Linked DNA regions of Homo sapiens: region 1 is linked to region 2. Evidence: promoter capture Hi-C in 16 types of primary human blood cells and fetal thymus (Javierre and others, 2016). All regions are on one chromosome and are shown on one strand. The core of a region is centred on a gene start or on the middle of the fragment in contact, and the rest is flanking DNA. Distances in the headings are between cores, read along the strand shown.

What was found. Contacts are between HindIII fragments. The CHiCAGO score rates a contact against its expected background, and 5 or more counts as called.
Region 1: a contact is called between a fragment that was not itself captured here and the fragment with the promoter of STAM2 in region 2, in 3 of 17 cell types (total CD4 T cells, naive B cells and naive CD4 T cells). The highest score is 8.4, in total CD4 T cells.

The regions. Positions count from the first base shown.
Region 1 is chr2:153,517,422-153,523,773 of GRCh38, forward strand. It overlaps a transcript of GALNT13 not described here. Among named protein-coding and RNA genes, the nearest start is that of RPRM, 42 kb to the left of the region's middle. The HindIII fragment of the contact is 889 bases long and covers 2,995-3,883 here.
Region 2 is chr2:152,171,719-152,178,121 of GRCh38, forward strand. It overlaps STAM2 (signal transducing adaptor molecule 2), which reads right to left and starts at 4,045. Exons shown (of 14, transcript NM_005843.6): 1 at 3,885-4,045. The coding sequence starts at 3,924. LOC105373689 (a long non-coding RNA gene) reads left to right here and starts at 3,815. Exons shown (of 3, transcript XR_923477.3): 1 at 3,815-4,839. RefSeq lists enhancers at 3,583-3,632, 3,683-3,822, 3,983-4,506, 3,983-4,402. The HindIII fragment of the contact is 5,938 bases long and covers 1,285-6,403 here.

The DNA of each region.
Region 1 (6,352 bases), core at 2,189-4,688, 1.3 Mb after region 2:
CAAGAAAATATAGTATGAGGTTTGAAACCCTTTATGGTGCCAGAAAGCAGAGAAATGTTCAGAAGAGAGAGGTTTGTCAGAGAAACACAAGAGACAAACCTGAAGGAACTAATGGCCAACACTGGAACAATTCGAGTCAGAAAATATTGATAGTATTGAATTTTACCCATGGAATCAAGCAAATTTCCATGAGTCCTTACTACTATAAATGAATAATTGAATAAGTAAATGGGAGCTACAGATAGCTCTTCCTCACAGTAGAATTTCCATTAATGTAGAAGGAAAAGGGAAATAGAGAATCACCATTAGGCAGACATCATAGTAACACATATTGTAGATAAATATCCACCAATGTGTGCTAAAATCAGTTGGCAAAAGTTTGAAGAGAAAGAGGATGTATATAGTTTCAAGGTATCTCCCCTAGGATGCTCATCAACTACAGAGAAGAAAATAGTAAATTTGCAGTGGAATAACCAAATACACAGTGACTGAAGTGACCAAGGTAAACATCCCCAATAAGAAGACATATCAATAGCATGAAACACTTGATATGATGCACTGAGCAGGACACAACATGATTTAAAAAATGATTCGTGCCAGAAATGAGTATCATCTTTATGGTGCTGAGAAAACATGGTAGCTCAGGACAGTCACACATTTTCTTCTTCCTGGATATACTGCCCTCAACTCCAGACCCCTGTCCAATACACACACCCTGGCCCTTCCTTTGGTAGGTTCTTATTTTTTCAGTGTTCTTCCAATGACTTCAGACATGTTATCTGACCAATCCAAATATGTTCTTCTATTGTTTTTCTCATAGTTCTTTCTTCGTAGCCCTTATCATAATGAAAGTCACACACAATCTGTCTCCTTGTTTAGTGCTGTACTGCATGCTCTTTGATGGGAAGGACCATGTATATTTGTTCATCCAGGATACTTGATACCTGACATGGTTTCTGAAATGCGTATGGAGACTATAAAGATTTTATAAAAATGAGAATGAATAAGTGGAGAAACAAACAGAAGAAAAATCCTGTTTCTGAAGTAGAAATCCAAAATATACTAAGAAAACAAAGTCACAAGACATGGGCTTGAATCATGTCTGTTACTGACTTTATGTGACTAGGCAAGTATATTTTAAACCTCTTTGTATTCTAGGTACTGCTAAATTTATAAAGTAAAGGGTTTGTATGAGTTCTTAGTATTGGAGAAAGATTATTATTTTAAATTATAAAATTGTTATTTGAGTTCAATAACTAAAACTAGAAGTTACTGAACTAGAATAACTATAAATATCTATTAGATGGTGAAATATCTGGTATCTGGTTCTATAAATGTTTAGTGGGTTCCTAGAACAATAATTAACTTCTCTGAGCCTTTTCTTATCAGTCCCAGAGATGGAAAATGGGTTTCATATGAATTGAGAGCTCTACTGAAAAGGCTAAGAGCCTTGCATTGACTCAGCACAATACAGTACTGTAATTGGGTACTGTGATTTCTGACTTGGGCACAAAAGGGTGCATAAGACATATGCTAGCCAGATCATTTCCATCCTTGGAACAAATGACTTACTATATTCTTTAAATTTCTGCTAATTATGTCATTCTATATATGTTAAATTGTTGCTAAGCCATAGACTAAGAAGTTAATGGGTAAGTCTATTGTGTCCAAGGCTCCTAGGACTTTTAGAAACCCCTTTAGCTTAACTTTACTACAAATTGCTGCTATTTCACACGTCCAAACAGGATTCTGTTGATAAACTGTAAAATCGATATTTTCCATTTAAACGGCTTGATTTAATAATTCACAGGGTTGATAATGTTTATTACAAATTTTGATTGTTGATATTGTTAGCAGAGTTAATCTATCAATCCTGCAGGTCTAACAATTTCCTTTGAGTTCTGTGCTGAAATGAAAACAACTGGGCACAGCATGCCATAACACACCAAGTTAAAAGGATCAGGAAGAGTCTAAATAGGAAATTACAGTCAACAGGATAGTACAAGTATTCTTAGATTTCCAATTGGCTAACAATGATGGATTGCAGCGCCACCTGCTGGTCAGAAGCATTGTCTTTTTTTTCTTTTTAACTGTTTTATGATTTTGTTGCCCTTTCATGGGCTTTTTGCTTGTATGTCATCTATAAATGTAGGGTTTATTTAGATAAAGTTTCTTCTTCAATCAGTTGACAAATCAAGCCATTCTGTTGCTAGCTCACTTTTGCTATAAAAGATAGAGCAATAGGCTTCAATGGGAAATATTTCTTGTGATTAAAAATTCTCAACCTTATTTTTTCTCCTATTTTGTATTACAAATAGAATCCCCCTGTAAGAAGCTAAAGTTAGAGGAGTCACAAAAATGGAGTGACAAGGCACCATTGGAATCCATTACATTTTATTCCTTTGGGTTTGTTTTAGCACTTCAAGTTTAGTATTATTTCTTAGGTAAATCCAGAATATCTGGAGTGTTCTGGACATGTCACAAATTATGGCTAGCAACCCAGCAGCATATAATGTGGCCTGAAGATCTTCGTTTTCTTAGAGTCTGACTGCTTTGATTGGCTATTACTAACTGCAGATGTGGTCCATCTTTAATCTCTCTCCCTGTAGGGCTGGCAGCAAAGGCACCAGATGCTAAATTAAACTATTAAACATATGATGATGTTAATATGAGCCAGACATCTTCCTGTCTTACTAGAAAAAAAATTTACTCATTTAAAAATAATATTTAACAACATATTTGAGTTATTTATTTTAATGATCTTTGCACATATAATTTTTATTTCAGGCAGTAAGGTACCTTAAGGAATGGATAATTGTTGCATCTGTTTCTCCAGAGGTCATAAAAATAATACAAACACTAAGCAATTCAGGCTAGTGTAGATCCTAATTGGTTGGGAAGGTTAGCAGCTAAATTTTGTGATCTCAGGGCATCATTTGAGGTTCATAATTCTTCAAAATTTTCTGGTGACCAAAGAACACAGATATCTTTTCAAGCTTAGTTTGGGCTTTCAAAATTTTATGAATTGTTGGCTTCATTGAGAATCTAAAGATTTATTCAAAAATGCAATCTGAAGAAATCAGAACTCAGTCTGACCTCAGGAATGCTTCATTTCTTTATTTCTTTATTTTCTGGTCAGAAAAGGAGAACTCATCAGAGGTTCCCATGGAAGAGTTTTATCTTAATGCTCGAAAAATAAAAGTAAATGCTGAGAGGTTGGCGCATTGGCACCTAACATTTTCCTGCTATTGACTGCCCTACTGCTTTTCATTTCTCTTATAATTTATTTCAAAGACATTTTCTCTTCTATTTTGATTATTCCCAAAGTGATTTTAGAACCCTTTTAGTGGTACATTATTATCTTCATAAATTATTAGAATATAATAATCAAATCTGAATAATTTCCTTTCCGTAGACAAAAGTACATGAACAGAAGAGACCATGAGATATGTAAATCATAAATAGGTTATTTTGTTGATGAATATGAGCTCATGGAGATAATTGAATAGAGATTTCTTTTAAATTGCACATTTTATTAGTGAATGTTTATACATTCCCTATAGCTCCCAAAATTCCTTTTGGTGCATGACAGATTTAATTTTAACCCTATTTTATACTTTTAAAACATGTTATTATTTTACTTTAAAGGAAGACAGTGATGTTTAGGAAGTACACCTGAAAGCGCCATATAAAGTATCCTTGTAAGTTATATTTGTTCTATGTTACAGATGTTTTAAAGCATAGTCCTTCTTCTGAAGAGCTCCAAACATTCTTTTAACTCATTCTAATTTTTCATTAGTGTTTTCATTCTAATTAATTTACACAGGACCACTATGGTAGTGGATGATAAATACCATTAGGTTTTTTTTTTTCCTAATGGAAAAGCTTTACCATAAAGTTTTAAGTTGCTTGCCTAAGTTCTTATTGTCCAAAAACATAAACTACATCAAATTTTTAAAAGACTATTTTTGAGTAGTTTTAGGTTCAGGGCAAAATTAAGAGGGAAGTACAGAGATATCTCATATATCCCTTCCGTCTACACATGCACAGCCTTTCTCATTATCAACATCCCGTACCAGAGTGGTACATGTTATAATTGACGAACCCACAATGACACATCATTATCACCCAAAGTCCATAGTTTACATCAGGCTACATTCTTGGTGTTGTACCATCCTGTGGATTTTGACAAAGGCATAATGACATGTACCCACTACTATAGTATCATACAGAGTATTTTCATGGCCCTCAAAATCATCCGTATTCTGCCTATTTGTTCCTCTCTCCCTCTACTCCTGGCAATCGCTGATCTTTTTTGGTCTCCATAGTTTTACCTTTCCTAGAATGTCATATAGTTGGAATTATATAGTATGTAGCCTTTTCAAATTGATCTCTTTCCCTTAGTAATATGCATTTTATGGTCCTCTGTGTCTTTTCATGGCTTGACAGCTCAGCTCATTTCTTTTTAGTGCTGAATAATATTCCATTGTCTGGGTGTACCACAGTTTGACCATTTGCCAACTGAATGATATCTTAGTTGCTTCAAAATTTTGGAAATTATGAACTAAACTCCTATAAACATCTGTATGCATTTTTTTGTATGAATATAAATTTTCAGCTTCACTAGCTAAATAAAAGAGGAGCACATCATGCCTGTAATCCCAGCTCTTTGGGAGGCCGTGGTGGGCAGATCGCTAGCTCAGGAGTTTGAGACCAGCCTGGCCAACATGGTGAAAGCCTGTCTCTACTAAAAATACAAAAAATTAGTCAGGTGTGGTGGCACGTGCCTGTAGCCCAGCTACTCAGGAGGCTGAGGTGGGAGAATCGTTTGAACCTGGGAGGTGGAGGTCGCAGTGAGCCCAGATCGCGCCATTGCACTCCAGCCTGGGCGACAGAGTGAGGCTCTGTCTCAAGGAGAAAAAAATAAAGAGAGAGAGAGAGTGGCACAATAAGTGAGAGTGTGAGAAGTGAGGCACAAAACTAAACTTACTCATATGCTAAGAGTAAGTTTAGTTTTGTAAGAAACCAGTGTACTGTCTTCCAAAGTAGCTTTACTATTTGCATTCTTACCTGCACTGAATGAGAGTTCCTGTTGTTTCTGTTGGTGGTGGTGTTTTCATTCTGGATTTTGACCATCCTAAAAGGAGTATAGTGGTATCTTGTTGTTTTAAATTTGCATTTCCCTGAAGACATATGTGGAGCATCTTTTCAGGTACTTATTTTCCATGTGTACATCTTCTTTCGTGTGGTGCCTATTGAGATATTTGGCCCCCTTTTTAATTGGATGTTTTCTTATTTTTGAATTTTAAGAGTTCTTTGTGTATTTTGGATAACGGTGCTTTAATAGATATGTCTTTTCCAAATATTTTCTCCCAATCTGTGGCTTTTTGATTCTCTTCATAGTGTCTTTTGCAGAACAAAAGTTTGTAGTTTTAATGAAGTCCAATTTATCAATTCCTTCTTTCATGGATTGTGCTTTTGGTGTTGTATCTAAAAAGTCATTGATAAACCCAAGGACATGTATGTTATCTCTTCAAAGGTTGACAGTTTTGTGTTTTACATTTAGGTCTATGATCCATTTTGAGTTATTTTTTGTGAAGGATGCAAGGTCTGTGTTTACTATTTTTTTTTTTTTTTTTTTTTTTGCATGTGGGTGTCCAGTTGTTCCAAACACCATTTGTTGAAAAGATTCTCCTTTCAATTGCGTTGGCTTTGCTCCTTTGTCAAAGATCAATTGACTATACAGGTCTATTTCTGGGATCTATGTTCTCTTTTGATGATCCAAATTTTTCTGATTACTGTAGCTTTATAGTACATCTTAAAGTCAGGCAATATCAATACTCCAACTTTGTTCTTCTTACATATTGTATTGGCTATCTGAGTCATTTACTTCTCCATATGAACTTTAGAATCAGTCTGGTGATATCTACAAAAATAACTTGCTGGAATTTTGACTGGAATTGCATTGAATCTATGGACCAAGTTTGAAAGAACTGACATCTTAACAATATTGAGTCTTTTGTTCATAAAAACAAAACATCTCACCGTTAATTTAGTTCTTTGCTTTCTTTCATCAGAGTTTTATAGTTTTCCTCAGATAGACCTTGTACATATTTTGTTAGATCTGTACTTAAGTATCTTATTTGAGTGCTAATGTAAGTAATATTGTGAGTTTAATTTCAAATTCCACTTGTTTATTGCTGGTAGAGGGGAACGTGATTGACTTTTGTATATTAACCTTGTATCTGGCAATCATGCTGTAATCACTTACCAGTTTCAGAAGAATTTGTTGACTCTTGAATTTTATATATGGATAATTATATCATCTGTGAACAGAGTTTTATTTCTTCCT
Region 2 (6,403 bases), core at 2,795-5,294:
ACCACTGCGTCCACAGAGTTTTGTAGAGGTAGAATTTGAGCTCAGCTTTGTGGGACACAAGCGTATCTTTAAAGGAAATACCAAGGTTGAAAAGAGCAAACATTTAGCAATGAATGGTAAATAGCACAGAGGCAGAAAACTGGCAAGAAAGATTGCCTGGCTTGAGTAAAGGGAAAAAAGATATGCAAACAAGAACCGGAGTTAAGGCTTAGAACAGACAAGTCATGACTTGGAAATCAATGAATAAGGAAATGACATCTTCTCTGTTAACACTAACCACTGTGGCCCCGTCCCCCATGTTTCACTTTCCCCTTGGAATTCTACAAGAATGGCTACTCCAACCAGGCTCTACCTCAAGATCCCTGTACCCCTCTAACACTTGAGGCCCAGCTGGGGAGAAGAGGTGGGACCTAAGGATATTTTCTTTTTTCCCCTCAGAACACATCAAAGAAATCTTATTAAACAAAACAAAAAAATGAATCTAGATAAAATGTTTAAAGAGTTCTAACACTACCAAATCTAGTATATCCTTCAGGGCTTGTAGGTTCTGATGCCAAGAAAAGACAGGAATTTGCCAGAGTTCCCTACTTCCTAGCCTTTGGCCTGCTTCCATTTGACAAGTCACATATCATCATCAATTCATGAGTGCCTTCCTAAGACATCTTGACCCATCCTTTTCTCAGCCCCTGAGAAAAGGATTCCTTCCTCATATGACTGTCAGAAAGACTGCTCACCCTCCTGCAAGACTCTTCACCTACCAAAAGAGATTAATCTTTAAAGGCCTTTAATCATAAAATGACCATATCATACATTAGCAAAAGGTGGTTACTTCCTGTTGGGAAAGTGCTATCAGAGAAGGGGGGGAGGAGGCTGGGCACAGTGGCTCACGCCTGTAATCTCAACACTTTGGGAGGCCGAGGCGGGCAGATCACTTGAGGGCAGGAGTTCAAGACCAGCCTGGCCAACATGGTGAAACCTCCATCTCTATTAAAAATACAAAAAATTAGCCAGGTGTGGTGGTGCGCACCTGTAGTCCTAGCTACTCGGGAGGCTGAGGCAGGAAAATCACTTGAACCCGGGAGGCGGGGTTGCAGTAAGCCAAGATCAGGCCACTTCATTCCAGCCTGAGAGACAGATTCGTCTCAAAAAAAAAAAAAAAGAAAAAGAAAAAAGAAAAGGTGGGAAGGAGAGGATAGTGTCAACACCTTTACAGAGAAAGCTCCTATCTGAAGGTCCTTGTCTTTTCTTCAGGGACTATGACTATTTTAAATAAAAGAGGATTAAAGCTTCTTGTATATTTGTAGCACTATACTTATCGTACTAAATTACAGGTCTTATGTCTCTCTGTTTCCTCCATTAGATTGAGAGTTCCTTGAAGGCAGGAACTCACAGTCTATTTACTCATTTTGTGTCCATAGATTAACACAATGCTTGACACACAGTAATTATTCAATGTATGCCTGCTGAATGAAGAGTGAACAAAGGAATGACCAAAAAAAAAAAAGGGTAACAAAAATCTGACTGAATCAAAGAGAACAAGTGAAAAAGACAATGACAATGTAAAGTAACATTTCCTGTAGACATCTCAAGTCAAATAATGACTTGCTTTGTGTATGCGTGTGTGTCTGTGGGCGTATATACACACATATATATACATATATATATATATGTATACATATATATATATATTTTTTTTCGAGACGGAGTCTTGCTCTGTCGCCAGGCTGGAGGGCAGTGGCGAGATATTGGCTCACTGCAACCTCCGCCTCCCGGGTTCAAGTGATTCTCCTGCCTCAGCCTCCCCAGTAGCAGGGACTACAGGCACGCGCCACCATGCCTGGCTAATTTTTTGTATTTTGGTAGAAACGGGGTTTCACCATGTTGGTCAGGCTGGTCTCAAACTCCCGACCTCCAGTGATTTACCCGCCTCGGCCTCCCAAAGTGCTGGGATTACAGGCGTGAGCCGCTGCGCCTGACCCTTGCTTTGTATTAACGATTTGAAATGAAAAGTTTTAAGATATTAAAAACGTAATATATAATTTTTCTTCTATGATATACGTGCAAGTCCAATTTGAGCTCTTTAGTATTTCATTCTACTTTTTCTAATTCCATTCTCTTGTCCAGAAGTTACAGGAGGGCCTCAAATTCATTCTTTCACCCTTAAAATGCCTTTGGGGTTCTGAATTCAGTCATGCTTAAGCTAATATGTAACTACTTGAAGCTCTGGCTTATGGCACTGGCCATAAAATAATCTAGACACAGTTTTTTTGTTTGTTTGTTTTTTTAATCTCAACAGCAGTGCCTCCTTTACAACTGTAGGACTAAACTGTGATCCACTAAACCAATGCTGGGGCCTCGGGAGCCAGGCAGGGAAAGGTTTAGAACAGAACAGACAGAGCAACTCTGCCTACTTGTACCAGAGAATTTTTCCATCAGAAAACAATGAACTTTCAAGAAAAATTTATATTGAAGAAAAGAATTCACGGTTTTTAAGTTTTAAAATCATTTGTCTAATTCTATTTTGCGCCTTCTGTTTTATTTCATTAGAACAGAATCAAAGTGTTCATAATAGCAATTTTTTAAAAGTACAGGTTGCACAAAGGTTGTATGATTCAAACAAAAGAATACTGCAATGAGGCGTTCCAAAAGGAAACAGTGAGCCTTAAGAGTGATGTTTCCCAGATTTACGCCAGTCACCTGTATTCATCCACCAAAAAAAAAGTTTAATGAAGTAAGGAACATACATATTTGAACTATTTACATATATTATTTGACTCAAACATGTTTTTTAAAATGGCTTAGGGGATTACACAACGTATCAGAATAGGGCACTTTCTACAGTCTCCTAATAACCAAATGTTAACTATGAAACAGGGGAATTACTGCTGAGATGTGCAGTATTCTTCTGAGTCTCCCCGCCCCAACCCCATTTCCAAGTTCTAAAAATTTACCTAGGGTTCTGTTAACTACTGCTACAAAAACAAACAAAAAACAAACCTGTAGTCCCAGCTACTCGGGAAGGGGAAACGGAGGTGGAGGCTGAGGTGGGAGGAATTCTAGTCGCACCTGGGCAACATAGTGAGACCCAGACTTTCGAGAATACATACATATATTTCTCAGTTTGTTTTAGTGTTACTCAAATTTCCTAAATAATTTCGTATATATCTTATCCATGTTTTTCTCATTCTATAGTCACTGAGAGACCAGCGCTTTATGACTGCAACATGTAAAATACTTGTTGTTCTGGAGTGTTTTGAGACTGGAGATTTCCTTTTCATACTCTAAAACCGAACATCTCCTAGCACCCGCGCAATCTTTGCAATCCGGGGATGAAGAGCAACACCTTTACAATTGTAATAAATCTTAAAGCTACCCTATCAGGGATTGAATGCATGAGTAATATAAATAATGGGGAAGTAAGTTCTTCCTATTCAATGCGGTTGTCTAGGTGTCAAGTGTCTAGTGTTGGGCTTCTCTAGACAGCAGGGTCTCCACTGCTGCATCATCTTCAGAAAACGATGGGGCAAAGACGGAGGTAACCAGCTGTCGAACGAGCAGGAAGTTTTTAATCACCAACTCCACAACTACTTAATCAGTCCAGTCTCCAGCGAGCCCTAGGCTCTTCCCAAATCCTACGCTTGGCAAGGAGAACGGCCCTTTGAGGGTCCCCAAACTCAGGCGGCAGGAAGCACTCCCCAGACCGCTAGCGACGCGCCGAGGTTGCCCCAGAAAAATCCCAACGTCGAAGGAGCGGGCGGCACCGCCCCTCCCCTCCCTTCGCTTTGCTTCCTAGTCCCCGGAGTCGCTACCGCCCACTTTCTAGCCGGACAAACAGCAGTCCAGGGCCAGGCACACAGCAGTCCAGGACCGGGCACAGCACTCACCCACGTCTTGCTCGAAGGGGTTGGCGGTGAACAAAGGCATCTCGCCGGCGCCCGAGCCCTAGTCGCTGCTGTCTAGCTGACACTCAGCAACTGCTACCCGCCGGGTGACCCGCGGCCGCGGCTCCCTAGACCGCTCCGCTTCGGCCTCCGTCCCTGCACTTCCGCCACCGCACCTGCCCGGCTCTTGCCTGACAGGCCGGCTCGGAGTCCACCCTTCGATCCCGCGCTCCTGTCCCAACTTTTCTCCCGGGGCGAGATCCCTCCGACCATGGGCGTCCTCCCAAGGCCTTTGTCGCTGCCCCTGTCCCAGACTTTTGTAGGGGTCAGGCGGCCGCTACGGCCACCTTTCCAGCGCTAGGACCCCGGCTAGCCACGAAGCCGGGGACCTTCGGAGCCGGAAGTAGTCCCGCCTGGAACTGGACGACCCCGGAAGCTGCAGTGCCAGCGGCGGCGCGGCAGGGGGCGCGGTTACCCGTGGTTTTTCGCGTTGGACGACGGGCTCTGAGGGCCAAGTTCTTGTCACGAATTTAGTTTGTTTCAGAGCGGCAGGACTCGTAGCTAGAGAACGAGGACCCACGACGCGTACGCGTTACAGTCCTGTTTCCCTAGAAACGGAGCTGCCGGCGCGGAGGTGGCTTTGAGATTCTGCGAAAGACCTGACTGCTCTTCAACAATTATTGTGTTGCACCCTCCCAGGCGCCCAGTCCAAACCCCGTCAGAATAACCACCCGGGACAGCGGTGGTCGAAGTAACTACGCCTAACTTTTCGCTTTCCATCGTGTCCCCTCCATAAAAACACTGCTGGGCCCCCGGAATCCAAAGGCGAAGGAGGCACACTCCCTGCCTTAGACTTGTTGAGAGTTTTATAGGGGCAGTGCATAACGTACATGATGGTGTATGACGATTCGGATGGTAGTACGAGTCATAAACTCAAATTCCAACAGCATCCAGCCAGGTATTTAAATGAATGCAAAAGCCCAAGCACCCTTCCCACCCACATATTCTCTGTTCCTCTTAGAAAACTGTAGTAATGATTATGTTGCCTGTCTCTCCTCCTCATTAGATTATAAACTCCCTGATAAGTTTTGGTCACTACTATATCCCCAGCGTCTAAAACAGTGTCCCAAGTAATAGACGCTCAATGCTTTTCGAATGAAGCTGTAACTTTCTAACTGAACAGTGCGTATCTAAAGATGTCAACTACTGGTAAATTGCAGCCATTTATTGAAATGTGGGTCCTACTAGAGTTTGCAATTTTTCAATGATGTTTAAATGTTGAGAATTACTCCAACATTTTAAATAATAGATTAATCAAAACCATTTTACAAACTCTAGTATAAAGACCTGATGCTATAGAGAGCTCATACACATTCAGAAAGGTGGTTGCATTTTATAAAGTTCGGGGCACAAATGAGAAGGAATCGTGCAGAAGGGGCTGTTTTTCATAGAACGTTGAACCTAGGGATGTTCAAGATAAATTGGGAGGCCGGGCATGGTGGCTCACGCATGTAATCCCAGCACTTTGGGAGGCCAAGGCGGGCAGACTGCTTGAGGCCAGGAGTTCAAGACCAGACTGGCTAACATGGCGAAAAACCGTCTCTACTAAAAATACAAAAATTAGCCAGGCATGGTGGCGCAAGCCTGTAATGCCAACTTCTTGGGAGGCTGAGGCACGAGAATCACTTGAGCCCAGGAGGCAGAGGTTACAGTGAGCCAAGATCAGGCAACTGCACTCCAGCCTGGGCAACAGAGCAAGACTCTGTCTCGAAAAAAGAAAAAAAAAAAAGACTTAGAGATTTTTTGGACAGATAAAGACTTTTTGTCTAAGACTTAGTGTTGGAATGGAAAACAAGGCTGACTAGGTATAAGAGGAAACAGATTGACAAGAATTTTAAAGGGCAAGCTGGGAATTTTTTATTTTGATTAAGGCACTCAATAATTATTTAAGGATATTGGGTAGCAGAATAGTAAAAAAAAATTTTTTTTGAGATGGAGTCTCACTCTGTTACCCAGACTGGAGTGCAGTGGCGCGATTTGGGCTCACTGCAAGCTCCGCCTCCTGGGTTCACACCATTCTCCTGCCTCAGGAGAATGGCCAAAACTGGCCATAGACAAAATCTCTGCAGCACTGTGACATGTTCGTGATGGCCATAATGCCCACGCTGGAAGGTTGTGGGTTTACTGGAATGAGGGCAAGGAACCCCTGGCCCTTCCAGGGTGGAAAACCACTTAAAGGCCTTCTTATGCCACAAACAATAGCATGAGTGATCTGTGCCTTAAGGACATGCTCCTGCTGCAGTTAACTAGCCCAACCTATTCCTTTAATTCGGCGCATCCCTTCGTTTCCCTTAAGGGATACTTTTAGTTAATTTAATATCTGTAGAAACAATGCTAATGACTGGCTTGCTGTTAATAAATACGTGGGTAAATCTCTCTTCGGGGCTCTCAGCTCTGAAGGCTGTGAGACCCCTGATTTCCCACTTCACACCTCTATATTTCTATGTGTGTGTCTTTAATTC